Regions from separate parts of the Homo sapiens genome. Here all the other regions are linked to region 1. Evidence: promoter capture Hi-C in 16 types of primary human blood cells and fetal thymus (Javierre and others, 2016). All regions are on one chromosome and are shown on one strand. The core of a region is centred on a gene start or on the middle of the fragment in contact, and the rest is flanking DNA. Distances in the headings are between cores, read along the strand shown. Region 1 holds the start of MRPL3 (mitochondrial ribosomal protein L3). Region 2 overlaps NEK11 (NIMA related kinase 11). Region 3 overlaps NEK11 (NIMA related kinase 11). Region 4 overlaps NUDT16-DT (NUDT16 divergent transcript).

Region 1 (7,462 bases), core at 4,963-7,462:
GCTTTTTAGCTAAATTAGGTCCCATTTATTTATTTTTATTTTTATTGCATTTGCTTTTGGGGTCTTACTCATACTAATAATGATTTTTTTAGACCTCCAAAGGAAACTAGAAAATAGAATACTGGCTGGGTGTGATGGCTCATGCCTGTAATCCTAGCACTTTGGGAGGCTAAAGCAGGAGGATTGCATGAGGCCAGGAGTTTCAGTCCAGCCTGGACAACACAGCAAGACCCTGTCTCTACAAAAAAATGAAAAATTTAGCCAGGCATGGTGGCACTCACCTGTAGTCCTAGCTACTCAGAAGGCAGGCAGGAGGATCGCTTAAGCCCACAAGTTTGAGGCTGCAGTGAGCCATATCATGCTACTGCACTCCAGCCTAGGTGACAGAGCAAGACCCCATCTCTAAAAAAAAAAAAAAAAAAGGTAAGCAAAACTAAATAAAGAAAATAGAACAGTTTCTCTTAAAATCTTGATGTTATATCTCAAAATATTCCAAAATCAAATTCTGTTTGCTATATGAGTTACCAGCATTTTGAACTTCGGGCTTAATTGTCTATAATAGTCTTCCATTTCTGCTATAACAAAGTACCCAAAGCTAAATGGCTTAAACAACACAAATTTGTTATTTGACAATTCTAGGGGTCAAAAGTTTGACACAAGTCTCACTGGGCTACTATGAAGGTGGCTGCAGGGTTGCATTCTATTCTGGAGCTCCTACAGGAGAATATAGTTCCTTGCCTTTTCTAGCTTCTAGAGGTCACTGCATTCCTTGGCTTGTGGACCCCTTCTTCCATCTTCCAGGTAAACACTGTTAGGTTGATTCTTTTTACATTGCATTTATCTTACCCTTCCTCCATTGTTACATTTCTCACCACAGCCAGAAATGTTCTCAGATTTTAAGGATTCATGTAATTACATTGGGCCCACCCAGATAATCTAGTATAATCTCCACATCTCAAGGTTCAAAACTCTAATTACATCTGCAAAGTCCCTTTTGTCACGTAATAAAGGACATTTACAGATTTCAAGAATTAGGACGTAAACATTTAGAATAATGTGACTATTGTGGCTGGGCGCAGTGGCTCACACCTGTAATCCCAGCACTTTAGGAGGCTGAGGCAGGTGGATCACGAGGTCAAGAGATCAAGAACATCTTGGCCAACATGGTGAAACCTGTCTCTACTTAAAAAAAAAAAAAATACAAAAATTAGCCGGGCATGGTGGCGGGCCCCTGTAAACTCAGCTACTTGGTATGCTGAGGCGGACAATTGCTTGAACCCAGGAGGCAGAGGTTGCAGTGAGCCTTGATCACGCCACTGCACTCCAGCCTGGTGACAGAGTGAGACTCTGCACTCCAGCCTGGTGACAGAGCGAGACTCCATCTTTACAAAAAAGAAAAAAAAAAAAGAAAGAATAATATAACTACTGTTTTCTACCTTCCAGAAGGACTTTCACTTAGAAGACTAGAAGGGACCTCAGCTGGACAGATGAACAGGCAGAGAGGTGAAGTGATTTACTCTGTGTCGCACTGCTAGTTAAGTTTAGACCTGAGATTGAATCCCAAGTCTCTTGGCTCTGAGTTCACAGCCATTTTTAGAATGCTGCTACCCAAAATGTGGTCAGCACTGACATCATCTTGAGCTTCTTAGAAATGCAGACTCTCAGATCCCACCCTAGACCTAATGAATCAGGTTCCGCATTTTAGCAAGATTCCCAGGTAAATCTTGTACACATTCAGGGTTGAGAATCACAGGCTTTCAACATCACGTGGGCTCTGAAAAGCCTCCAATGAGGTTGCATAGGAATTGAATGGGTGAATATCTCAAGCAGTTCGGCCTCATCATTCTCTCTTGAGACCGACGGATTCTGATCTAGACTGATGAGACGCCTAAAGATGCAGGCTTAGCACTATCATCATCAATCTTTGTTGGTCTGGGGCATCCTCTGGATGCTGAGCTGAGTGTTCCAATAATGTGCTATGCAGCTTTCTCTTCTAAGGACAGAGGCAGTACAGCAGATCAGTTAAGCACTTGGACTCTAGACAGCCTGCCTGGCCTCAACTCCTGTCTCCACCACTTACTTAACAAATGTAAAGTTTGTGCACTTGAATGACCTGCTCATCGTCTCTGTGCCTCAGTTTCCATATTTGTAAAATGGGGTTGAGACTAACAGTACCCACTTCACAGGTGAGGATTAAATAAGTTAATATATGGAAAGCACATAGATCAGTGTCTGCCACTTAGCAAAAGCAATGCAAATGTTAGTTATTTATCATTTTTCAGGGAATCCCTAGGCCTCCTCTAAGTGGAATCAAAATCCTAAATGAACTCAGTCTTTAGAATTTCTCCAGATTCTGTATCTGTAAGGCTCAGAGGGGTAATCCTGATTATGATTCTAGGTGGCTAGAGTATCCACTGGTTTGGAGCTATACTCTGGCCATCAAAACTACACTGGCATTGGGAGGAAGACCAGGGAGGAAGAGATGTCCTTTTGAAAAGCATTGGTTCCCTGGCATGTGATGCTACATTGTCTGTTGCTAATATTTTTTCTAAGTAATCAAAGAACTTTAAAAAATGGACATTGGTATAATTACATTAAGTTTTGAAACCTTAAACCCAGATTACTACATGGCCATACTGCTTTTTTCTATTTTTTTAAGGCTTTCTTCAAGCCAAATGAATTTTAATTCTGATCATCTCTTGGAACCCTAAAGTCTGTGGGCTTACTTGGGAATTTACAAATAAAAATTATGTTTTAAAAGCAATATATTAAAGTTACAAATTGTGATTTGGCCTTACTGAAGGACATTGAAGCAGAATTCATTCTCTTACTGAATGAGTATCTGTGGATTTTGCAATACAGCCTTTCAAATTTTCTATTTCAGCCAGCAATGAAATCTTAAAGTTCAAAAATCTCTTAAAGTTTATTTTATCTATATCCCCATTGAATGCTTGACTCACTTTCATAACATCTTTACTGATTTTAAAATATGCTAGATTCTCACAACTTGAGAAAAATGGAGAAAAAAAAGGATAACTTAGTAAATCCAAACTCATTGTTTAAAAGATTTCTAATTTCAAATATAAGGTATGTTATAAACTAAGAGACAGCATAAATGAATACTAAAGTGGAAATTACCCAACACAAAATTTACCATCTTGCAATAATCCAACTATACAGGATATATCACAAACATTATAAGAGCTAATGGTAGAGCCTAATGGCAGGAACACATATAAAAGATTATTTCCAGTGAACTCTTGCTTTGAAATCTGCTCCTTCTATGATGATTCTCTTGTATTGAACATGGCTTTAGTAATTCAAAAATGAATCTATTCCTAATGTTTTATTTAATAAGAGAAGGTTTATGAGATCATCTGTTGGTCTGAATTAGCGGAGTAAGAGTTATAGAACTGTACCACTAAAAAGAGAAAGTGCAAGTTATCTTCGTTCCAATAAGGAATTGAAATCTTAGAGAGGCAAAATGGCATTACAGTTTCAGGGTCTAAGGCAGTGTCTGAAGGATGACATCAGAAATAACAGGAAGCTCTAGGTCAGTGCCTGACTGCCCTAGAAAAGCCTAGGCTGGGTCCCTTGACAACTGGGCCTAGTAGCTGTCAGCAGCATATTACAGTGACTAAATCAAGTATGACACCACTCAGCCCTGGCTGGCAATCAGGAGACACATTTTTTACGACAGCAGACAAACCATGTTTTACTTTGATTCAGTTCAGCGGTGGTGCCTGCTGTCAAGGTCCTCCTTATGGACTAGGAGATATTTGGTACTATGGGAAAAGGTTAGACCAAATGGCTACCTCTTCAATCCTCACTGACCACTGCGTGTGATTACTTACCGATTTTCCTCTTTAGCCTTAAAGAAATTCCAAGGCAAGAGTAGTGACATATTTGTCATAGAGAGCCAAAGAAACAAAATGTCTAAAAGCATAAGCTCTATCTATGGTCACAGTCTTTGGCTCTACCAGTTAATAGCTGGGTGATTTTATTTAAGTTATGTAATCTCTGTATGCCTATTTTCTTAACTGTAAGATCCAGATAATTATACTATTGTCACAGCAGATTGTCATAACAATCAAGTGAGAAAATACACTGAGAGAGTAAAAATGAATACTATTAGTAACTGGACTGCAGTGTTTATAGCAGAACATCAATACAATATTTCTTTTTTTTTTTTTTGAGACGGAGTCTTGCTCTGTCACCCAGGCTGGAGTGCAGTGGCTCAATCTCGCTCACTGCAAGCTGCGCCTCCCAGGTTCACACCATTCTCCTGCCTCAGCCTCCTGAGTAGCTGGGACTACAGGCACCCGCCACTACGCCCGGCTAATTTTTTTTTGTATTTTTAGTAGAGAAGGGGTTTCACCATGTCAGCCAGGATGGTCTCAATCTCCTGACCTCGTGATCCACCCGCCTTGGCATCCCAAAGTGCTGAGCCACCACGCCCAGCCCATCATTACAATATTTCTTACAGACCGTACTGTAGGCCACACCACTGCAGCAAAATGACTAACAGTTCCTTATTCTGAGTGATTCCTGCTTTCTTATGAACATCATGCCCACTTCCTCTCTGTTCTTCCTGTCTCTAGAACAAAGACTATCAAGATATCCAATTGCTGAACTGTCCTTTCTTCTTGACAGCACCCATTCTAAAACAAGTTCCTGCTTCTCTGATGCCACTTTAAAATCACTCAGCCTTAAGTCCAAATTTCATTTCAAGCCCCTCCCAGGTCACTCTTTTGGAAACATCCTCAGACATATGCTGTCTTTTGCTGCATCAAGCTAATTAAACTTGACTTTGTATGAGTTCACGTTTTCTTCTAGTAGCCTTGGCTTATGGGCTTCCACAATGCTGAGCACATACTCTAGCACACTATATGGATAAGAAATGTTAGTTATTGGCAGTAGTACAGAAATCTTCTTATTCTCAACTTCTTGCATGTAGCACACCTCAAAACATGTTTGTTCAATGAAGAGCCATCCTTAAGTATCTGGGAAGCCAGGCAGCATGGCTAGAATGAAGAGATGTAGTTTTTCCTTCAAGGTCCAAAGTATTATTGAAAAGTGTCTAAGGTAACTGCAACAGCAATGAGTGGAATGAATGGACAAGCAAAGCAAAGATTTTTTAGCCCACTAAAGTCCAAGTAATGGCCAGGAATTGACCATTGTCTGGACCTGTTAAACCAAGATAGCCAGATCTCTAGTAAAAAGAGAAGGTTGAAATAGCTACACTTTAAAGTTCTTATTTCCAAATTTCTACAAACAGTAATCTGACAAATAAGGGAATTAGTAGAAGAATAAATGTCCTAGTCACATACATGGTTATTAGGCTAGATCTGGAACCCAAGACAGGGGATTTTTTGTGCAGGTGTATTAGCTATCTATTATTGCATAACAAATTACCCTAAAGCTTAATGACTCAAAAAAACGGTAATCATTTATTTTCTCTGGCAATTTCTCCTAGTCAGTAATTCATGAGCGGCCTGGCTGGGAGATTCAGGCTTAACGTCTCCATGAGTTGCAGCCGAGGACTGGTGGATCCACTTCCTAGGTGGCTCAGTCATGACTGGCTAGTTGATTCCTCTTTATATGTTCCTCCCTGCAGAGCTGTTTGAGTGTCTGCAGGAAATGAAGGCTAGCTTTCTCCACAGGGAGCAATCCAAGAGACAAAAACTGAAGTAACAATATGTTTTATGATCCAGCCCTAGAAGGCATACATCATTTCTATGGGTGTAGTCTATTGATAACACATGCCAACCCTGTTTCAGTGCCAACTCTGCTCCTCTGCCAGATGTGTTGTTTTGGACCAGCACCTAAATTCTGAGTCAGTTTCCTCATTTATAATAGAAAAATAAATACTTCCTTTCAGGACCGTTTTTTATGATTAACAAATATAGGATTATGAAGCGCTGCTTAGCATAATGCATTGCCTCACAACGGGCACTATTTAGAAGTGTCTTCATTTTCCTTAGCGTCCTCAGGAAGTCTGTCCTTATTCTTCTAAAGTTTAAACTCTGAACATCCCTTTTATTTTACCCCTGGAGAGGCGAGTCAGTCCCTTCCCACCCCTACCTACTCCAACTCACATCCAAAGTAGGACAACGGTGGAAGCAGAACTATAGTTTCCGGGGAGCGACTCGAGTGCCCGGAGTTCATTGTAAAACGCACCGGAAGTGGGTCCGGCGGCTTTCTTTCCGTCGCAGAGAGCATCGGCCGGCGACCGTTCCGGCGGCCATTGCGAAAACTTCCCCACGGCTACTGCGTCCACGTGGCGGTGGCGTGGGGACTCCCTGAAAGCAGAGCGGCAGGGCGCCCGGAAGTCGTGAGTCGAGTCTTCCCGGGCTAATCCATGCCGGGTTGGAGGCTGCTGACGCAGGTCGGCGCCCAGGTGCTGGGTCGACTCGGGGACGGCCTGGGTGCTGCCCTGGGCCCGGGGAACAGGTAGGAAGGTGTGAGGGTGTCCTACCTGCACAGTTGCGTCCTGAAGCAGTGGAATGGCCTGGTGCAGTTGGGCCTCCCCTGGGTGGAGGAGGAAGGGGCTCTGTTGAGACGTGGGACACAGAAGAATAAGGGCCGTTAACCTAAGGAAGCACGTTCTAAGGGGATTGAAGTGGTGATTTTTAAAAAACGCTTATGAGCCAGCCACTAGCAGCGAACGCTATTAACAGCAATCATATCTTACAATTAGTGAGCGTTTGCCAGGTACTAAGCGCTCTGCTAAGTGTATTAGGTGCCTTATGTAGCCTCACGGGAGCAAACTGCTATCATAAGGTTTACAGATAAAACTGAAGGTTAGGGAGGTGAGTTAATTTGCCCAAAGTCACTCAACTAATAAGTGGAAAATTAGGAATCTAGCCTGAATTTATCTGACTACAAAAGGAGAGTAGACTGCAGAAAGCTTTACTTCTGTTCTGACCCTCCATGCAAGAATTACACCCCTTCTTCCTGACCTCCGCCCACTAAGGTCTTTCTTGGTATGTTCACCTGTTCAGAGGTCATGCCTTTTGTGGATCTTTTAACTTTGCACACCCAGTTTCTTCACTTCTCTGAACCTAGGCCATGTCATTGCAGGGAGGAGGTGAGCTTGTTAGACAAAGATCAACATGCCACCTTCTGCCACCTCCACTGAATGTAAAACTATTAAGGTACACTTCCAAATGGGTTAGTGGCTTTTCATGTCTATAGGTAGGACTGTTTTTTGGGGAATATGTTTATCTGCGAGGAGAAGATGAATTTTTTTCTCCAGGGTAACGACTAACAGTTTAAATGTGAGCCTTATCCGAAGGAATGTGGGGAGTGAGGAAAAGGTTGGAGACCTGAAAAAAAGGTATACAGAATCCAAGCCCTTTCCCAAGGCCCTGACTACACTTTCCAATTTGTGACTTCCCTTTTCTATATTAAGTGGAGGAAGTTTTTAAATTGTGGTTTGGTTTTATTTATTTTTTCTTTT
Region 2 (7,462 bases), core at 1,571-4,070, 250 kb after region 1:
GAAGTGCCACAACCAAATAACGAGTTTCATGTGATAATTAAAAAAAAATAAGATCATCAGACAGAACTTCCCCTCTAAAAGGTTGAAATTTGGGGTGATCATTATGTCTTCCATCTCATTTCTCCACCTCTCCAGATGACAGCCCCATGACTTATTATGAGGGGCTGTGAATCAGCAGGGCACTGTGAAAGCTGCTCTACTCTGCTGAGAGGCTTAGCTGACACAAACTTGGTGAAGATTTTTCCTTGAGCTTCTCCTGTGACAATAGTGGACATCAGAATGGCAACAAAACTGTCGAAGAATCTGCAAAACAGGGTAGTCTCTGTACTGCCTCACCTCAACACCTCAACACCCCAGAAATGGAGATGCACTATGCAGATCCTCCTTGAAGGAAGAACTTGCTACCCCAGCTGTTGGGAGTAGACAGCCTCCAGCTGTGGCCCCTTCAGGAAATTCTTCAGCCTCAGAAAGCTGCCTTCCCCCAAATCATGCCCCTCCAAGTAGCAACCTTTAATGACTGATCATGGTAGAGGTAGAGAACCTAACCATTATGGCCTTTGCTGGCAACACCCATGGGACTGGAGCTCTCTGAGGGTTTGGCTAAGGCTTGTCAGGCCTTCATCACTGCTCAACTTCTCCCTCTGCCTCATCCTGCATCCTTCTCCTTCTGTCCACAGGGTCAATCCCAAGGGCACTCATGCATAAAAGTCCTGCCTACTCAACTCTGTCAGAGACGGCTTCCTAGAAAACCCAGCCTAAAGGTTGAAGTGGATAAGGTTGAGGGCATGGAGATTATTGTCTTGGTTCCTTTAATAAGTTGGGTATTTGATAAGAGCAGTATTAGAAATAATGACATGACCATTCCTACCACTTCTTGTCCATCCCCAGCTCTTTCAGAGAATTGATTTTATTGGTACAGGGCAGAAGCCACTGCCAAAGAAGTTGTTGTCAACCCTGTGGCATCAGCGGTGTCAATGCCAAACCACATTAGGATGCTGGAGTAGAAAAGCACAGGAGGAAAAGGAAGAAGATGGTCTAGGAGAGAACAACCTCAAATGCTTTCCAGTAGGAAGGGAGCTGGGGCATATTAGGACAAGTATGTGAGCTGGCTTAGAGGACTTGGGTTTGAATCTTGATTCTGTGATGTTTGGAAAGGTAAAAATCTGTGACTCAGTTGCCTCATTGATACAAAAAAAAGAATCCTATCTTCTATGGCTCTAGTAAAGCTTAAATGTATATTAAACTTATATATAAAGGTACATTATTGCTACAAAAGACCCAAGGCAAATTTACACTACCTCCCCATGATGTCCACCACAATGCTTTGCATGGAGCAGCTTCTCAGTGTATCAATAGGACTCCACTGCCTACACCAAAATTAAATAGTTGGGAAAAAGTGGATCAACTTGGGAAAAGCAAACTTGCTACTTATAGGAAATATGATAAATACCAGAAGATAGAAAATAAAATATTTTTATTATGGTTATTTCACACTGCAAATATTCACCTGAATTTTATAGATGATTAAAAACAACAAGAGTTAAGGAGTTTGGAAATTCTTGTTTCCTTTTGAATACACCAGGAAAAACCTCTAAGAACAGTAGCTACCAGTAAAAGGAAGAGACGAAGTGTCTGTTTTTTGGATTGACATTCAGTAATTAAATGTGGATACAGGCTAAGATGAGATTTGTGGAAGCCAGACCCTAACTTTTTCATTTGTGCTTTCCCTGTGGAGACACTAGCCAATGTTTGGGGAGTTTAATTATTCTTATCTGCCAACATGAAGAAATTTAGCTTTAAAAACAAAACCTGCTTTTCTGTAATAGGAGGTTGATCTGGCTTCAAGACTGATTCAAATACTTAAGGAAAGTGTATCAGCAGTACTTCCTTCTCTTTTTTTAAGTTTTTAAAATTTTTGTTTTATTTTATTTCAATAGTTTTTGGGGAACAGGTGGTTTTTGGCTATATGGATAAGTTCTTTAGTGATGGTTTCTGAGATTTGGGTGCACCCATCACTAGAGCAGTGTGTACTGTGCCCCATGTGTAGTCTTTTATTCCTCACCCCCTCCCACCCTTCCCCCTGAGTCCCCAGAGTCCATTATATCATTCTGCCTTTGTGTCCCCACAGCTTAGCTCCCACTTATAAGTGAGAACATATGATGTTTGGTTTTCCATTCCTGAGTTACTTCACTTAGAATAATGGCCCCTCTAACTCTATCCAGGTTGCTGTGCATGCCATTATTTTGTTCTTTTTTATGGATGAGTAGTGTTCCATGGTGTATATATATATATACCACATTTTCTTTACTCATTGGTTGATGAACATTTATGCTGGTTCCATATTTTTGCAATCGCTGCTATAAACATGCATGTGTAAGTATCTTTTTTCATATAATGACTTCTTTTCCTTTGGGTAGATACCCAGTAGTGAGATTGCTGGATTGAATGGTAGTTCTACATTTAGTTCTTTAAGGAATCTCCATACTGTTTTCCATAGTGGTTGTACTAGTTTACATTACCACCAGGATGCGTTCTCACTTTTCATTAGAATGTGAATCCTGACAATTGCGGGGGAAGCATGTAGCTCTCACTATCGTCAGCAGAACAGAAGATAAATTGAAAAATGATTACCTGGTATCATGTACTCCTTAGCTTCTATGAAAGCCAAAAGAGGAGATGTTTCCACAAGACACCGCAAGGGCCATCTCTCCTTTCACATCTCTAGTTATTCCTAAAATTCTATCCTTACAACAGTGGAGCTCATTAATATAGTAAATATTTGTTATTTTTGGCCTTACATTCTCATTTCCCTTGTAAGGGGAATCTTTTACTTTGTGAGACAGAGCCTGGCTCCCATTAAAGCCATGAATGCCGAAGACTAACTTACCAGTCTCCCATGTAATTAGGGTGTAGAAATATGACCAGCCTCTGCCAGTAAGATGAATTTGGCTGGACATGGTAGTTCACATCTGTAATCCCAGCACTTTGGGAGGCTGAGTCAGGTGAACCACTTGAGCCCAGGGGTTCAAGACCAGCCTGAGCAACATGGCAAAACCCCATCTCTACAAAAAATACAAAAAAAAAAAAAAATTAGCCAGGCATAGTGGCACATGCCTGTAGTCCCTGCTGCATGAGAGGCTGAAGCGGGAGGATTACCCTGAGCCCAGGAGGTCAAGGCTGCAGTGAGCCATGATTGTGCCACTGTACTCCAGCACAGGCAATAGAGTGAGACCCTGTCTTAAAAAAAAATTGATAATGAGAAGAAGCAGAGACCACATGAAGTCCATCCAGGCAGGTTTGCGGTAGGAACATCAGCCACATCCAGGTTCCCAAGGCAGCAATATTGGTCAGTCTAAAAACTGTGCCCAGTATCTAACATTATTATCCTTGAGGACACTCAAGATTCTCTGTGGAAAGGCCAATTTGGAAGGGATCTGAGGCCAGCTGTGTGAGTCATCTGGGAAATGCAATCTCCAGCCCCAGTGAAGCCTTCAGATGACTGTGGCCCTGGGTGATAGCTAACTGCAAACTCATGAGAGACCCTGAGCCAGAACCATCCAGTTACGCCCTCCTAAATTCATGACCTACAGCAACTATGAGAGGTAATAAATGATTATCATTGTTTTCAGCCCATATGTTTTTGAGTAATTTGTTATGCATCCATAGAGGACCAATATAGGCATTGAGCTTTTATGGTAGGTCAGGATAAGAAACAAATACATAAAAAATATTTCTGCATTTACCTTAAAACCAGTTTTGAAATCACTATATTGGTGCATAGTCTTTGTAGAAGACCTATGTTAGAGTAAGTTTTTAGAACTTAGGGTTAAAAGATTAACTTTGAACAAATTAATTTCTTAAATCTCTTAAAAATGTTTTAAATTTTGTTTTCATTGACACATAATTATTGTATGTAATTATGGGATACAATGTGGTGTTTAGATAAATGTATACATTGTATAAAAATCAAATCAGTGTATTTAGCATATCCATCACCTTATACATTCATCATTTCATCGTGGTAAGAACATCCAAAATCTTCTCTTCTAGCCATTTTGAAATGTACAATATGATATTGCTAACCACGGTCACCCAACTGTGCAATAGAATACCGAAATTTACTCCTCCTATCTAATTTTAACTTTATACTCATTGACCAATCTCTTCTTATCTTCCTCTCTTCTCTCCTTCCCAGCCTTTGGAGACAAATTTAACTGTTTATTTAAGCAAAGAATGATTTATGAATTGGACAGCCCTCAGAACCACAAGAGGTTTGGAGAACTCTATTCTGCAGGCAAGCAGCATTTATCGATAGAAAATGGAAGTGAGGTATAGAACCAGCTTTATTGGTTACAGCTGGGCATTTGCCTTATTTGGACATGGTCTAATCAGTTGGCAACCCAAGGAAAGCTTTACAGAGAAGTAGAAGGTTTGTAATTCTGGTGTTTGTGAGGGCAGGGCAAGGTTGTGTTCACTGAAATATTCTCAGAGGCCAACACATAGTATGGCATACAACTTTTTTTTCAATAATCACTTAATGAATGAATAGAAAGATAGAAGTAGAGCTGCCAAGCAGTCGGGAGGGGAAGCATTCTCTAGAAAGGATCAAGCAGTGTGAAAGCTCAGAAGTGTGAAACAACTGAGTATATTCATGGAAATATCAAGAAGTTTGGTGCTACTGGAATGTAAGGTGTGAGGAAGGGATTGATGAACCTAGATGTATAGGGCCAAGGCCAGAAAAAAATCTTGTGTGCCAGGTTAGGAGTTTGAATCTCATCCTGTGGGTTAGGATACCACTGTTTTATTTTTTTAAAGTACGATCTGAAAAGGTCACCTTTAACAAACAAGGAGAGTGCTTTGAAAGCAGTGACTTGAAATGTAGAACTGGGTATGTGTTATTACTACTCAGATAACAGATCACATGTTACTACAGTAACTGTTTAGGATCATCATTGCTCAGTAAGAAAGACAGAAGATGACCTCTAACTTCATTTTCTTTGAACTTCTTAGAAATGAAAATTCTGTCTCCATATCTTAGTAACTACATTATGAGCCAAGGTAATCTACAAACTTTAACATTCTTAAATGTTTGGGAAATTAGCTGTTCTTTCTCTCTTTCTTTCTTTCTTTCTTTCTTTCTTTCTTTCTTTCTTTCTTTCTTTCCTTCTTTCTGTCTGTCTGTCTGTCTGTCTCTCTCTCTCTCTCTCTCTTTCTTTCTTTCTTAGATGGAGTCTTGCTCTTCTCACCCAGTCTGGAGTGCAGTGGTGTGATCTTGGCTTGCTGCAACCTCCACCTCTTGGGTTAAAGCGATTCTCCTGCCTCAGCCTTCTGAGAAGCTGGGATTACAGGCACCCGCCATAATGCCTGGCTAATTTTTGTATTTTTAGTAGAGACGGGGTTTCACCATGTTGGCCTGGCTGGTCTTGAACTCCTGACCTCAGGTGATCCACCCACCTTGGCCTCCCAAAGTGCTGGGATTACAGATGTGAGCCACTGTGCCCAGCCAAATTAGCTGCACTTCTAGCTGAGAAAAGTTATCAGCAGAATTATACATGTCCTTGGTAAACTATATTTATAAAAAGGCTTTGTACATCCAAACTGGATGTTGTTTCAGAAGTAATTAGAATTTCACAGATGCTCCAAAACCTCACTTCCCATTAAGATTCTTTTAATGTGTTAATAGGTCTGATCAGTTTTGCTGTTTGAAAATTGTTACCCCTCAATTCTTCCATAGAACTTTGGTAATAATTCCTTAATCTCTGCTAAACAATAACACTGATATAGACCAGAGAAATCATCAGGGCTTCTGAATCCCTTAGAAACTTCCCTTGCTTAAGCTCTTCAAACTCTTAAGCCATTAAGTGTGGTGATGACTTAAAGTCAGTTAATCTTGCACTATTGTGTTTTTCACCTTGACAGAAAAAAATTTCTCATGCTAGTCTCACAGAGATTTCAACATACTGTTTTACTTTGGTTACTGACACATTGCGACCACTTTCATTGGAAGAGAGAAGGGATATTCTGGATTATAAGCCACTTGGATCATTTTGATGTGGATACACAATATCTGTTTTCCATTATCCCTTCTGTTTATGTCTTATAGAGATTTATGTCTTATGAAAAATTTAAATTTCTACAACTTCTTTAAAACTCCAAAGAACGCAACAGATTCAGGATTAGTGACAACTTACGGAGAACATGCTACATGTCTGCTACCTTGCCAGACAGCTCCATTTGATCCATGTGTAGCAAGGGGAGGTAGCAAGGAAAAGACTTTGTAATATAAATAAATCCCTTTAACAATATTATTAATTACTCTTATTAGCATACTCATAGCAAAGAACATTATGTATATTGGTGTTAACTAGAAAGAAGTTCCAGTAATCAAGTTTACATAGCTAAAAGAGAAACTCACCAATCATTAATTCACTTAATACACATGCATTATGGTTTCATTGAAGTTAATATACTTTGTAGCAGGGATATTGTACATTGCACTGGGGTTATACCCCAGTACACACCCAACACACATTTGCCTTATTCACAGTGTATGGTGTACTCATCACAGTATTCTGTAATTATCTGCCTCCCTGACTATACTGGGAAATCATTAAGACAGGGACTTGTTTTCTTCGCCACTCTATCTGTGACATTTGGCTTATAATGCAAACTTTATAAACATTTGTAGGGAAGGAAGAAGAGGAAAGGAAATCAAGGATAGAAATTTCAACTACGGAAATGTCATGTTTCAAAGTATCTGCCCTCAGTAAAATAGCTATTGGCTATATTATTGGCTATTCCCCATGCCCTCATTCTGGACTTTTTTTCTGTTCCCTTTTCATTTCTTCCCTCTTTCTTTCTCCTAATTCTGCCTAGAATCACTTAATATCCTGTTCATGTCTGGTCTTGCTTCTTGTATCCCATGGGAAATTTTGGTGGGAATTTAGCGTTTTGTAAATGAGGGGCCTTCATGTAAGACAATTTGTTTTCCATGTATGAGAAAAGCACCTAGTAGGTATTCCCTGGTACTTTCACAAAACCTTGCACTGATCTGTCCAGGAGCCCACCTCATGACAAGGACCATATTCTAAATGAGTCTCAATATCCAACTCTTTATGCAATGCCTTGAACCTTCATGAGCTCTCTAAATGCCTGATGTGGATGCTGAGGATCAGGCAGAAATACAATACCACTTCTAAGGAAGCTCAGTAACTCTTATGCACAGTGCCAGATAGCCCATCACACAGGACAGGATCACAGAAAGAAAGAGGAAAAAAATCTAGGAAGAAAACATTTCATTTTAGCTTATAGCTTTTAAGTTCTCTATAATTTTTGGAAATAAAATTTTTATTTTACACTTTAGTATTGTTCTGTTTGAATTATAAATTGGGGTGAGTGTGCACGATAATCCTTTCAAGGCTTAAAGATTATAAAGCCATAGTTCTTAAAGTGCAGTCTGGAC
Region 3 (7,462 bases), core at 1,828-4,327, 150 kb after region 1:
GCAGTTGGATCGTTACTAATACAATTTGAAGTGGTTCAAAATTAAGACTGAGTACAGCTGAAAGAGAAAGCATTTTCTCAGTGGTGATAAGTAAAAGATTTAACATTCAAGTAATGTTAAATCTTCTTCCCCACTCCCACCCCAGTGAACCAAATGAAAGTAAACTTGAGTGAGCTTCTCTTTAGAGGCATGGAGCTATGATTCAAAATGATATTTCTTCCTAGCTCTTTTTTCTTTTGAGCCTGATGAAGTGCATAACACAAATCCCTGGAGAGTAAGCTGTTTTTAGTCTGCACCTGTCTTCTAAGAACCATGTTCTGAAATGCAAGATAGGAAGGTGAATCTGTTTGTGAAAGAAACTATTTGAAAATCTAGCTATTTCCTCTTAGGACCCAGCACACAAGTTTTGTTCTGTTCTAATGTTATAAAAACCATCGACAAGAAGATTGGGCAATTTTTATTAACTGGGGTAATATTATGGTCCCCGCTCTTCCAGTCATATTTGCAATCTGGTTGGTCACAAAAGGGCATGTGAGCTCTGGGGAGCATTTTCTGGGGTGAGGTCTCTTCCCTGTTAATGTGATGGCAATTTGCATGCCTGCTGTCAGCAGCAGTGTGGTCACATGCCCCCATCATCCTAGGTTTCCCAGGGCAAACCTGATTTTCAGTGTTCTACCATGGCAACAACCACGGGTCGTAGATTTTGACCTGGGAAACACACTCAAGTTCCAAATTCTGAAAAGTCTCAGATCCCACCTCCAGAAGCAGTATTTGAGGTCTGCTTTTCCTGCTGCAGACACAGGGGCTGTGAGAGCACAGACATGCTCCTGACCCCCAGCCTCCCAGCCAGGAATAATTCTCCAGTATGCAGGGAGAGAGGGTGAGAATGGGCATCATTAGCTTTGGGAAGAGGCAGAATGAAGTTTTGTGCAGCCCCCAAAACCTCTCTATAGTGTAAGGGAGTTGTGGGAACTCAGAAGAGTGATGTTCATAACCCTTGAGCACTAGAGAAATTGTGGGTTCACCTGGGTGGTTCCTTTGGTTGCTGGGCAGGGATAGAAGTGAAGCCACAGGATAGAGTGTTAGGGCACAGTGGCCATGCCCCTTTGTCCTTAAAATAAGCCCATTAAGTTCTCTCAAGTTATTCACACTGACTCACCTACCACTCCACCCCAGTCACTACTTGCTTATATTCACTGTGAAGCATTTGAAGTCTTTGGACCCTTCTTGGAAGTCCTCATACCACCTTCCAAGATGTGAGATTAATTAAGCCCCCAATTAAGAGCAGCCAAAACACTGTTCCAAAAAGAGGGAGGGGGAGAAGAGAGACAACAGAAAGAAAGGTCTTGAACAATTGTTCTGTGTGGTACCAGTGGCACTGGCACCACCTGGAAACATGTTAGAAACCGTGATCTCTTGAATCAGAAATGCTGGTGATGGAATCCACCAATCTATGCTTCAACAAGCACTCCAGGTGATTCGAATGCATGCTCAAATGTGGGAATCACTGGTCTAAAAGAGTGCATCATGCAGGAAGCACAGCACCACTGAAAACAAGTTAGTAAGATAAAGAAACTCTCTTAGTTTCCTCAGTCATCAGCAGGAGGCTGAAAAGTGAATAACAGTACTGTGGGCATCAAATTCACCCAGACAGTTCTGAAACAATAGATATGTTTTAGCCCCTTGTCTTCCCAGAGAAGGGAGTGGGGTGGGTCTTGGTATTGACAAAGATTATCTCCTCGACCAAACTTTAGACAGGCTCTTTTGAGCCCTCTTTTTTATGAGGCCTCATTCTTGGCTCTGTCTTCAGCCTGCCAAACCCAGTTTTAGCAAGAATTCTGGTAAAGTCAGTTTATTGAGAATACCCCACATTTGATAGCTGATCACCCTCAGTATCTGATCAAATTCCTCATCACCTGCCCTCAATCTCTGATGACCCTGGCCTTCCTCCAGTGGGAATCTTAAGTCAGTTTAGCAGGAATCTCCCTGCTATGGTGTGAATATTTGCCTGCTCCAAAACTTATGTTGAAATTTGATCCCCAAAGTGGTGATGTTGGGAGGTGGGGCCTAGTGGAAAATGTTTGGATTATGGGGGAGCACCCTGAAAAATAGCTTGCTACTGCTCTGGAGTTCTTGCTCTCTAGGCTGGATTGTTTCTTGAAGGAATGGATTATTTCCCCAAAGGGTGGGTGTTATAATGCCAGGACACCCCTCAGGTTTCTCTGTCTTCCTACTTGTCCACTTCCCCTTCATTGCCGTGTTGTGATGGAACACAACAGCTTTTGCCAGAAGCCAGGGCCATGCCGTTGAACTTCTCAGCCTACAAAACCGTGAGCTACATAAACTTCTTTTCTTTATAAATTACTCAGCTTCTGGTATTCTTTTATGGCAACACTAAACAGATGAATACAACCCCCAACCTTTGAATACTCCTTTTAGAAATTTTCCATCCACCAAGGCCCGTATCCTGCTAATTGGCTATTAATCTCTAGTTTTCTTTGCTTCAGCAAAGAAACTTCAGAGTTGAGCCCAATGCCTCTCCCATATTGCAATATTGTTGATACCTATCAAAATAGTCCTGATTACAGTCTTTTTGCCATTTCAATAAGTGTCAATAATTTTTTCATTAACAGTATATTTAAATGTGTCTATGTTTAAAAAGCTTCACAAGCAAATCTAATATAGTTCCATGGTTGAAAATTCTGATAGACACTGGTTAAGAGTATGGATTCTGGAATGCGACAGACCTAGTTTCAAATGCCAACTCTGCTTCTTGCAGCTGAGTGACTAAGCAAATTACCTAACCTGAGCATCTCTCTTTCTCTGTTGTCTCTCTCTCTCTCTTTCTCTCTCTTTCACTCTATCTCTCTCAAGTTAGTGAAAAGATCCAATGAAGGCCCTTAAACTACTAAGCACAGTACTAGTACCCAACAGGCACCAAATTAACCAAATATTACTGGCTCTAAGTAATAATTATCAAAGGATGGATATGTTACATTCAATAAGAAAGTTTTACATAAGGAAAAGATAAAATAGGTGATTTATTTTGTAACTGTGAAAACTATGTTTATTTTGAATACAAATCTTGAATTATCTATGGATGAGTTTGAAATAAATCATAGAAGAGAATCACTTTTTGGATTTTTAATCCAGGTCCTTGTGTGTGTATGAAATACACACATATCTTCCTTATTAGTCATGGAAGGGCAAAAGTGGACCAAAAACAGGTCAGCTAAGACAGGCATGTCTGGCTTCTGGGCTGTAGCTCAGCATGTTGTAGGCTAGAGTCCAGTGACCTTCACTGGCAGGCTGCCTACAGTCCATGAGACCCTAGGCAGTCAGGCACTGAGCTCTGTCCTCCAGCTGAAAATAATGAAGAGCACACGGCTTCTCCCCGGTCATCGTCAGGGTGACTCAATCCTGCTGGAAGCCCTGAGGGCGCACATGAGAGAAATGCTTTTCAAGGGAGCCAAACTTGATCTATAAGCTTATCTCAGGGTATAGTCCAAATAACACTTATGACTCCAAGCATAGGCAGCCATGCTTACTACTCTCTAAAGAAGCCAGTACTTCTGATGAGGAATTGAAAGTCAAGATGGGAGCTCTGCTTTTGTATCCATTCCCCATAATAGAGTTCAGCTTATATGTTAAATGAATTTTCACATAAATTTGTCCACTTGAACTTCTGCTTCTTTTTGATAGTTGCCTAGAGATGGTTCTGGAGAGTAGGTTCTTTTCCCATCGTGATCAGCAACTGCTCTTCAAAGTACAGGAGCTGGTCCACTTCAAAACAGTCGCTGGCTTGAGGCACCACTTTTTCCAAACACTCGCGGATCTCTGCTTCGCTAGCATTCTGATGCCTTGCTCTCTTGAGGTAATTATAGACCTCTTCAAATACTTCTGTCCCCAGCTTCTGCATGGCTGATCTGTCAAAAAAGTTACAAAAGATTACAAAGAGTTACACATTAAGATCACCTGCAGGAAAATGTGCTTTTAAATCATTGATTTTACAAACATTGTCATTCTGGGATTTAGAAAAAAAGGGGGAAGAAAAGGCACAATATCTCCACCCTAAACATTTAACAGTATTCAACAAATAATGCCTCAATGTCTATTATGTGCCAGGTACCCTTCAAGGAACTGGGAATATAGCAGTAAACAAGTTAGGCAAAGTCCTGCCCTTGTGTGTGTATATATATATAATACACAGATATACACACAGATGTGTTTATATAAACGTATGTATATATACACATATACACATAAGATATCAGATGGTTCTAAGTGCAATGAAGAAAAAGCAGGGTGAGGCGGACAGGAAAATCCTTCTGAGGAAGTGTCATTTGAGCAAAAGCTCTCAGGAAGTAAGACAAATACTAGGGGCAAAAGAATTTTGGCCCTAAGGCTAAAACATATTGGAAAAATAACAAGAAAGCTATTGTGGCTGGAGTTAGTAGAACAAAGGGAAACAGGATGGTGGGATATAAAATGCAGAAATAGTTAATAATAACAAAATAATAATGAGGAGGAGGAGGAGGAAAATGAGGGGGAGAATAGTTTTGTTTGCCACTTGCCAGGTCCTTTTCTACTCACTTTGCCCTTTCAATCACACTTAACCTTTACAACAGCTGTACGAAGGAGGCAATTTTTTAAATCCCTATTTTACAGATGAAGAAACTGAGGCTTAAAAGGGGTAAAGTTATTTGGCCAAGTTTCCACCAAGGCCGACATTCATTTTTTCCACACTTCCAGTGATTGTCCATATGTCAACATAATCTTTATGTTATAATCATATTGCCATATCTAGTATGTTTATTTCACCGTTGACTATTTTCCTCTATCTCCAGAAAGGGTCACAAACTAAAGACCTATGGGCAACATTTGGTCCATAACATGTTTTGTTTTTCAATACCATGTTTTATCTTCCTTTATTATTTTTAAATGTTTTAATGTGAATGTCTTTATGTGGGGCCTGCAAGCACTCTGTACTCTGCATTTTCTGACCGTCTTTGACCTACCTCCCCTATCTTTTATCATCTTATACCAGGCTCCTTCTCATAGTTCTTCTACCCACTTAACTCAAGGGCATTCAAGTTGGTGGATTTTGTTTTGCGGTTCTTCACGGTTGTCGTTTTTAATGGCTCCATATTGTTCCACTGAATTTATGTGCCAATATTTACTCCATTTTCCCTTCACCAAACAATGAGCTTTTTTTTGCTCCTTTGCACTATAACATAGTGTGAATACCTCATCTTTAGATATTAGGCTTTTACATTTTAGGGGAATATTTTATGACATCAAATTTTTAGGAGTTGGGCTATTATGTGTGTGTTCACTCTAAAAATTTATATGTGTACTTATGGTTTCTGCACTTTTCTCTGAAGAACAGAGAAAAGAGTAAATATATGTTGTGCTTGATTAAATGATAAAAATGTTATGGGAATGAGATTATTAGGTCAAAGTGTATAAATATTTGTGTGACTTTAACTTGAAGAAATATTACTTTTTCTTCATTTCAATGGATTTGGTAAAAAGAAAAACCAGGATGTGTATTTTTTTTTTTTGGAGATGAAGTCTCTGCACTGGTGTGATCTCAGCTCACTGCATCCTCTGCCTCCCAGGTTCAAGCGATTCTCCTGCCTCAGCCTCCCGAGTAGCTGGGATTACAGGTGCCTGCCACCACGCCTGGCTAATTTTTGTAATATTGGTAGAGATGGGATTTCACCATGTTGGCCAGGCTGGTCTCGAATTCCTGACCTCAGGTGATCCCAAAGTGCTGGCATTACAGGCCCACCTTGGCCTCCCAAAGTGCTGGGATTACAGGTGTGAGCCACCGTGTCCGGCCTTTTTTCACAATTTTTGAAGCATTAATGCTTAACAGTAATGATGGTAATGTTGATAATAACATTGGAGACATTAGTCACAGACTCATTCATTTTATAAGCTTTTATTGTTCAGTGTTATTCAAGCTTGTAATCTCTAAATCATAGGATATGTGTTACGTATTGTGGCCGATAAAGAGATGAATAGGTAATTCTTCTAGCTCTGGTTTAAAGGCTGGTCATGACAATGCAAGACATAAATTTTTAATTTTAACTAACATTTCTATAGCCCTTTAGAGCTTGCAAAGTGCTTTTGCATTCATTATTTCAAATGCTCCTTATGAACTAGGCAATTCATTGAACATTTGTCTTCATTTTACAGATGAGAATAAGCAGGTTTTTCGTAGCCTTTCACAAGCTCACACAGTTAGTGTGGTAGAGTTTGGACTCAAATGCTGATCTTAAAACACCAGATGCTGGAGAAACCAGCAGCCCTAGGCTCCACAATAAGTTTCCCACCTTCTGTCATGAGATTGTCAGGACTGATTCCAGCATGCCTAACATCCCTAGTCACCTCAGTCACCCCCACAAAATCCAGGTGTTTCTTTTGCTGACATCTACCAAACCCTGGTCATTCTCTTCATACACTGATTACTTCAGTGACTAGCCCACTCTTTCTTCCACCTTGTACTCTTGTCATCATTCTTAACTTCTGTATTCTTGCTGTCTCTGGTTTTGAACTGCCTCGCATTCAGCCATCATTTCTTTTACCCTACCTGAGTTGCCCATTCCCATGATCATATCAATTGACCTCATCAGTGCCAATGACTACATGACCTCTGAAATTGATTTCAAGCCTCCTACTCTCTAATCACCCCCTCAATGCCCTCCCACCATACTTACCAGCTAATCTTCCACTTCATGGTGCCCTTCACTTCGACTCTACCCCCATGATAATAATTACTCACTTCTTTTGTAACCTCATATACTCACTCCTCACCTACCTCCTCACAGTTAATTTCATGGCCCATCATCATAACCATTATCTCGCAAATACCTTTGACTTTTTCCACCCCTTTCCCTTTGTTTGGCAAAGACCTAATGGTTAAACTCAGTCGTATACCTACTCCATGGCTGTACCCAAACAAGAGAATATTTATGGAGAAAAGCATCCAAATATACCAAGTCTCTCATTTAAGATGATAATCTTGATTCAGAATGGCACTCAGCACTGCCCAGCAATCTTACCGTGTTTCCCCAGTATGTTTATTTTCCTCCCAAAATGACTACTTCAAATGTTTTCCTTTATTCTTTTAAAAAATATTTTATTTTTGATTTTTAAATTTTATTGTGTATATTTGAGGTTTACAACATGATGTTTTGGGATACATATAGATAATAAAATGGTTACTATAGTGAAGCAGATTAATATATCTATGACCTCACATAGTTACTTTTTTATGACAAGAACAGCTAAAATCTACTTATTTAACAAAAATTCCCAATACAATATAATTTTATTAATTTTAGTCCTCATATTGACATTAGATCTCTAGACTTGTCCATCCTACGTATCTACTGTTTTGTATCCTTTGACCTACATTCCCTCATTTCCTCTCCCCTACCAACCCTGCCTGAGG
Region 4 (7,462 bases), core at 3,273-5,772, 140 kb after region 1:
CCACAGCTGAGAATGCCCATGGTGAGTTCCTAGGTGGGGAGACAGGGGTGCAGCTCAGATTTAAATCAGGATAGCAGCACTTTCGTGAAAAGCCTAGGCACACAGACTCCCTTCATCAGGGAGCTGTTGGTGTGGAGCTTCCTTTTCCTGTTTCGTGTCCTTCCCAAAGTCCCACTGCTATTCTTGCTTTTGGAGTGTGAGTGCTGCCTGTGAGAAGACTTCTTCTCTGCCCAGCTGGCCCCTGCAGACTGCCTCCAGCCCTAAGGGGAGCATGAACTGCCTCATTTGCCCAAGTCAGAAGGGAAGCGGGGAAGCAGGGAGAAAGCACATGGTTTCTCTCTGCTGGGGCCTTAAGTCCATGAGGGAGTTTCCCATTTTACATTTTTCCTCTGCCCTGCCCATACTCCTCTTCCTCAGAACTGAACATGTTTTAAATAGAATCCCCCAACCTGAGTTCTTCTGCACTTCTCTGTCTAAGGGCCAAGGTCCAGCATTTTTACCCTGGCTCAAATTCTGATGCCATCCAATGATTTGCTTACAGACTAAATTTTTCCCCCATTTTTGACTCCCCCACACCCGTTTGTGCTTCCATTAGAGATAAAGGATTTCAAAACATTTCTGTGAAATAAACTGAAACTGAAACATGGCTTCCCTCTTCTCTTCCCCTCCCTTTGTATGTTTCACTGGCCGGCTCTGAGCGTCCAGGTAACTGGGGAAGGAGGAAGTCACTGTTGCCTCAAATGTTCCAGCCGAGAAGTAGCAGCTTTGCCATATGCTGGGTGACTTTGTCTCAGGACAGTGTGGGGCCAAAGTGTTTATTCTGCACCAGCAGCTAGCAGACTCAAGGGAAAAGTGCAATGCTGAGAAGTGGGAACATCTTGCTAATTACAATGAGAAAGGCAGAAATATGTGTTTGCGGGGAGGCAGCCGGGCCACTCACCTTCCAAGAAACAAAACGTGCTATGAAGCAGGAAGCACACACGGCATCCTGTACTTTCATATGGCTGGATGCATCTCTTCAAGCTTATCCCAAGTGCTGCCTCTCTAACCTCACCACACGAATCACAGCAACATTGCAGATAAGGAAATGGAGGTCAAGGGCTTGGCTCAAAGTCACCACAGCAGTTAGTGGGGGTCAAAGATTGCAATGAGCATTTCTCTTCTTCCCGCCCCAGATGATTGGACTTAACAAGGCCAAGGAAAGCTTAAGTGGGTCCTGATCCTTGGCTTTCCTTAAACCTCAGCAGGGTGGGAATGAGTAAGAGGAGAAGTATAGAGTGTGAGCTTCTATCGCCCACTGCCTGCCTACCCAGGGACTGTAAGGTCTAGGTGGTGAGATGAACTCAAAACTGACAACAATTAAACACTTTTATGAAAGCTACCTGAGAAGAAATCTACTGACTTGGAAGTTACGTTCAAGGGATCATACAGGAAAGTCATGGGCTCCTCAGCCATCTCCAGACACCTAAATAAAAAACAAATTTAATAAAAGGGACTGATCACTGGGATACTCAAGCAGAGTAAGACTGAGTGCTGTAAAGGAACCTTCCAAATGGTATTAACGTTGACCTGGATTACATCCAGAATGAGTTCTGGGTCCAGAATTGCCTAGGACCGGATCCTCAGGCAAGGGATCTATTAGCAGTGTCATCAATGGTGAGTGACTCTGATCTCCCAGTCTTCAGGGTCCCTTGCAGAGATAACTGAGAGCCAAGTGCACAAAGCACAGATGAAGCTGCTGCAGGCTGGGACCCCGGGAGCCACTGGAATGTCCATTTCCTGCAGCCTGCCTATACTGAGGTTTAATCTAGATAACGTTTGACAAAGGGGTCATGGTGACATTAAGGAGAAGAAGGTAATTTACCCCACCAGGAGTCTATCTATCTACCTAATCTGTACAGCTGTTCCCCCACCAGCCACTCCCATTTTCCCAAGACCAAGGGCTGCCAGTGGGAACCACATTGCTCTGCATTTAGTTTCCAGACCACTGCTTACCCTCCCTTCCTCAAAAGGCCCTTGCCTGGAAGGCACTATCCTGTCATGCTTGTTTTCCCCTCTGGCAGGTGCCACTGGCCTTGTGGTTCACCAAGGACACTGGCTTCTAGGTCACACTATCCTCCCCAACATCTGCCCTCTAGTCTGGCTAACCCCAGATCTCACCTCTTAAGCCTCTTCCTCTGGCTCTGGCCAGCAACTCCAGGTCATACCCTTGACTGCCTTTTCCTGAGATTGCTCCACCTCTCAATTTCCAAAGCACTCCTGTCTGGCTCAAATACACCTCCCCACCCAGCCCCTCACCATGCTGGAGTTTCTACCTCGTCAAGACCTCTAATTTCCTAATCCCTCCCTAGTCACCTCCAGTTTTCAATTTCCATCTTGGTCAGATTAATCCTCAGACCACACATTTCATCACTACAGTTTCTCCTGTGCATGTCATCTGAACTGCCCCATCTTTCTCTCACCTCCTATACTCCCCTGGCAAAACCCCAACACTGCAGTAAGCATCTCCATCCCAGATCCTGAATCCTAATTGGGGGAAGACAGGTGCATGCAGATCCCCACTCAACACACACACACCTGAGTGCCCAGCATCCTACTCTAAACTGAGCATCTCAGAGCTCAGCCTTGCTCTGCCCTTCTGCTGTTTCCTTAACTTGCTTTTTCACACCAAAGTGAATGTTTACTTCATACCTTCTGAGAACATGCTCCACCCACAGCTAGCTGATAGTCTCACTTCATTTCACCAAGAAGAGATTCAAATTCTATCATCTTCCCATCAATTTAGCCATCATAATCCTCTATGCGTGCCTCATTCCTGTTTTCCTTGAGCCCTGTTACGCTGCAGGCCTGTCCCTCCTCCTACAAAGGTCCCATCCCTCCTTTTTTCTCATGGACGATGCCTCTTCAGGGGTCCTCCTCCTGATCACCCTCCCATCTGTTTCCTCTTGCCATCTTAACTGTTGCCATCAACATCCACATGCCCTGTCTCCCACCTTAAACACTCCCTGACCCGACAGCCCTCTCTAGTGATCACCCTAAGCCCCTTTAGGGCCAGCTTGTCCTACCTTCTGCTCCCTCATTTTCCATTCACTCAACCAATTGAGTCTGTCCTCTATGCCACCCTTTTTGAAATTGTTGCCATCACGGTCATCAAACCCTCATATTACTGAATTCAGTGTACAGTTCTGCCTCCGTTCTACCTAAACCCTCACAAGCACTCTGCATAGTCTACTTTCTAAAAGCAGCTTTCTCTCCTCCTCTTCTCCTTTTACATGCCCTGTCCCTCTGCCCAAACTCTGGGGGTTGGGCTTCCTCAGGGCCTTGTCCTGAGCACTCTTTTTCTCTCTTTATGGATCACCTCACCCAGTCTAAGTTTTTCTATCACCTTTATGCAGACAAATCACAAATTTGTCTTAACCTGCCCAGAATGTCTTCCTTGATCCTGTCTCTTTCAAAAGCTTATTCCCCCACCCACCAGGCTTTCCCTACATCCTCAATATCAACGCCTTAAGACACAAACATAAAAGTCATCTTTGAATCTTCTTTCTTCCTTACTCCCTTCCTCCCACAACCAGTCCATCAGTAGGTCTTGTCAATGCCACCACCAATATCTCACGCAATCACATCCTTTCTGCCCATCTCCACTGCCCCTCCCTGCTCCAGATCACCACCATCTGCCATGTAGCTATGTGGCAGCTCCCTCTGTCTCCTCCTTCCTCTACTAGCCCTTCCAGTCCGTGTTCCACACAACATCAGGAGTGACTTCCCCAAAGCATACTCCAAGCCCCTCACATGGCCTGTGAGGTCCTATCTCATCAGACTCCCACCTACATCTCCACCTTGATCTCCTCTTACTCTGGTGTGCCCACATGGCCTTTTCCATTTATAGACCATACTTTAGTAGGTTAAAGTTGACTACCAGTTATTTGCTAGTCCTCTGCCCTATTCCTCATCGCCCCCATCAAGAAATGGAGTCTAAAAAAATATTCCATGCAAGTGGAAACTAAAAGAGATTAAGGGAAATCTACATATCTATATGTAGATATAATTACTTCAAATAGACTTAAAGTCAAAAACTGAAAAGAGACAAAAGAAGATCTTTATATAACCAGAAAGAGGTCAATTCATTAAAAGGATATAACAATTATAAATACGTATGCACCCAACATCAGAGCACCTAAATATATAAAGCAAATATGAATAAATCTCAAGAGAGAGACAGACTGTAATACAATAATAGTAGAAGACTTTAATACCCCACTTTCAGCAATGGACAAATCATACAGAAAAAAAGTAAATAAAACATCAGACTTAACAAATTTAGTGATATTAAAATCATATCAAGTATATTTTCCAACCACAATGGCATAAAACTGGAAATCAATAACAGGAGGAATTTCAGAAAATTCACAAATACATGGAAATGAAACAACATGCTCCTGAACAATCAATGGGTCAAAGAAGATATTAAAAGGGAAATTAAAAATTACCTTAAGATAAATAAAAATGGGGACACAACATACCAAAACCTATGTGATGCAGCAAAATCAGGTCTAAGAGGGAAGTTTATGGGATTAAACACTAACATTGAAAAGAAAAATGACCTAAATAAATAACCTAAGAGTACACCTCAAGGAACTAGAACAAACTAAGAACAAACTAAGCCTAAAGAACAAACTAAGCCTAAAGTTAGAAAAAGAAAATAATAAAGATCAGAGTAGAAATGAATGAAATAGAGACTAGAAAAACAATAGGTCAATGAGACTAAGAAGTTGGCTTTTTGAAAAGATAAACAAAATTCACAAACCTTTATCAAGACTAAGAAAAAAGAGATGATTCAAATAAAATAAAGAGGAAACATCAGAACTGATACTACAGAAATGCAAAAGACCACCAGAGGCTACTGTAAACAAGTATATGCCAACAAATTGAATAACCTAGAAGAAACAGATAAATTCCTAGACACACATAATTCTACCAATACGGAATCATGAAGAAAAATAAAATCTAATCAGACCAATAACACGTAGATGCATTAATAAGAAATGCTTTCCCATAAAAGAAAAGCCTAGGACCTGATGGTTTCATTGCTGAATTCTACCAAAAATTTAAAGAACAATTCCTCTCAAATTCTTCAAAAAACTGAAGAAGAGTAAATACTTCCAAATTCATTTTATGAGGCCAGCATTACCCTGATGCTAAAGCCAAAGACACTACAGGAAAAGGAAACTATAGGTCAATATGCCTGATGAACACAGATGCAAAAATCTCAAACAAAAAATGCTAGCAAACTGAATTCAACAGCACACGAAAAGGATCAGTCACCCTGATCAAATGGGATTTATTCCTGGGATGCAAGGATAGACCTTGTCAACAAATGCAAATCAATGTGATTCATCCTATTAACAGAATGGATAAAAAACATGTAATCATCCCAATAGATACATCTGATAAAATTTAACATCCTTTCATGATAAAAACTCTCAACACATTAGGTATAGAAGAAATGTACCTCAGCATAATAAAGGCCATATATGACCCACACACAGCTGACATCATACTCAATGGTAAAAAGTTGAAAGCTTTTCCTCTAAGATTATAAATAAGAGAAGGATGCAACACAGTACTGGAAGTCCTACCCAGACTTGGTAGGTCTTCCAAGACCTTGAAAGCCAGGTGGGGTGGCTCATGCCTATAATCCCAGCACTCTGGGAGGCCAAGGTGGGTGGATCACCTGAGGTCAGAAGTTGGAGACCAGCCTGGCCAACATGGCAAAACCCCATCTCTAGTAAAAATACAAAAATTAGTTGGGCATGATGGTGCATGCCTGTAGTTCCAGCTACTCAGGAAGCTGAGGCAGGAGACTTGCTTGAACCTGGGAGGAGGTTACAGTGAGCCAAGATGGTGCCACTGCACTCAATCCTGGGCGACAAAGTGAGACTCTGTCTCAAAAAAAAAAAAAGGAATTGAAGAAGACACAAATAAATGGCCCAACAAATAAATGAAAACAAATCCCTTGTTAATGAACTGGAAGAATTTATGTTGTTAAAATGTCCATATTACTCAAAGCAATCTGCAGATTCAATGCAATCCCTATCAAAATTCCAATGACTTTTTTCAAAGAAATAGAAAAGCAATTCAAAGATTCATATGAAACTACAAAAAAACCTTGACTAGCCAAAAAATCTTAACCAAAACAACAAAGCTAGAGGTATCACATTGCTTGACTTCACAATATATCATAAAGCTATAGTAACCAAAACGGCATGGTACTGTCATAAAAACAGACACACAGACCAATGGAACAGAATAGAGATCTTGGAAATAAATCCACACATTTATGGTCAATTGATTTTCCACAGAGGGTAAGAATACACAATGAGGAAAAGATAATCCCTTCAATAAATGGTGTTGGGACAACTGCATATTTCTGTGCAGAAGAATAAAATTAGAACCTTATCTCATACCATATAAAAAATAAACTCAAAATAGATTAAAGACTTAAATGCAAGACCTGAAACTGTAAAGCTACAGAAAACAGGGGAAAAGCTCCATGACATTGGTCTGGACAATGATTTTTTTGGATAAGACTTCAAAAGCACAGGCAACAACAACAAGAATAGACAAATGGGATTATGTCAAACTAAAACTTTCTGCACAGCACAGGAAACAGTCAACACAGTAAAGGGACAATCTATAGAATGGGAAAAAATAACTTCAAATCACACAACTGATGAGAGGTTAATAGCCAAAATATATAAGGAACATGAACAACTCAATAGCAAGAAAACACATAACCCAATTAAAAATGAGGCAGATGACCTGAATAGACATTTCTCAAAGAAAGGCAAATAGGTGTATGAAAAAATGCTCAACATCACTAATTATTAGGGAAATGAAAATCAAAACCACTATGGAATATCACCCCATATCTGTTAGAATGGCTATGATTAAAAAGATGAAAGGTAAGTATTAGAGAAAATATGAAAAGGGAATGCTTACACAATATTGGTGGAAATGTACATTAGTATGGTCATCATGGAAAACAGCATGGAGATATTTAAAAATAAAGAACTACTATATGGTCCAGGAATCCCATTACAGGGTATTTATTCAAAGTAATTGAAATTAGGATCTGGAGAGATAGCTGCACTCCCATGTTCACTGCAACACTATTCACAATAGCCAAGATGTGGAATCAACCTAAGTGTCCATCAACAGATAAACAGATAAAGAAAATGTGGTATATATACACAATGGAATACTATTTGGCCTTAAAATAGAAGAAAATTCTGTCATTTGTGACAACATGGATTAACCTAGATGACATGTTAAATGAAATAAGCCAGGTGAAAATACCACATGATTTCACTTATATATGGCATCTAAAAAAGTTAAACACATAGAAACAGAGAGTAAAATAATGGTTACTAGGGGTTGGGGGTAGGGAACAGTAATTGAG

What was found. Contacts are between HindIII fragments. The CHiCAGO score rates a contact against its expected background, and 5 or more counts as called.
Region 2: a contact is called between a fragment that was not itself captured here and the fragment with the promoter of MRPL3 in region 1, in 1 of 17 cell types (neutrophils). The highest score is 5.1, in neutrophils.
Region 3: a fragment that was not itself captured here is called in contact with the fragment with the promoter of MRPL3 in region 1 in 1 of 17 cell types (monocytes); the score reaches 7.1 in monocytes.
Region 4: a fragment that was not itself captured here is called in contact with the fragment with the promoter of MRPL3 in region 1 in 1 of 17 cell types (monocytes); the score reaches 7.9 in monocytes.

Annotation. Positions count from the first base shown.
Region 1 is chr3:131,501,721-131,509,182 of GRCh38, reverse strand. It overlaps MRPL3 (mitochondrial ribosomal protein L3), which reads left to right and starts at 6,212. Exons shown (of 10, transcript NM_007208.4): 1 at 6,212-6,453. The coding sequence starts at 6,362. It overlaps LOC105374114 (a long non-coding RNA gene), which reads right to left and starts at 6,584. Exons shown (of 3, transcript NR_189111.1): 1 at 6,479-6,584. RefSeq lists enhancers at 6,314-6,383, 5,890-6,576. The HindIII fragment of the contact is 1,488 bases long and covers 5,425-6,912 here.
Region 2 is chr3:131,252,781-131,260,242 of GRCh38, reverse strand. The region is part of intron 16 of NEK11 (NIMA related kinase 11); the gene reads right to left. Among named protein-coding and RNA genes, the nearest start is that of NUDT16-DT, 120 kb to the left of the region's middle. The HindIII fragment of the contact is 3,184 bases long and covers 1,229-4,412 here.
Region 3 is chr3:131,346,021-131,353,482 of GRCh38, reverse strand. NEK11 (NIMA related kinase 11) reads right to left here. Exons shown (of 18, transcript NM_024800.5): 18 at 3,018-3,926. The coding sequence ends at 3,707. The region is part of intron 2 of NUDT16-DT (NUDT16 divergent transcript); the gene reads left to right. Among named protein-coding and RNA genes, the nearest start is that of NUDT16-DT, 32 kb to the left of the region's middle. The HindIII fragment of the contact is 825 bases long and covers 2,665-3,489 here.
Region 4 is chr3:131,364,754-131,372,215 of GRCh38, reverse strand. The region is part of intron 2 of NUDT16-DT (NUDT16 divergent transcript); the gene reads left to right. It also overlaps the pseudogene NUDT16L2P. Among named protein-coding and RNA genes, the nearest start is that of NUDT16-DT, 13 kb to the left of the region's middle. The HindIII fragment of the contact is 2,124 bases long and covers 3,461-5,584 here.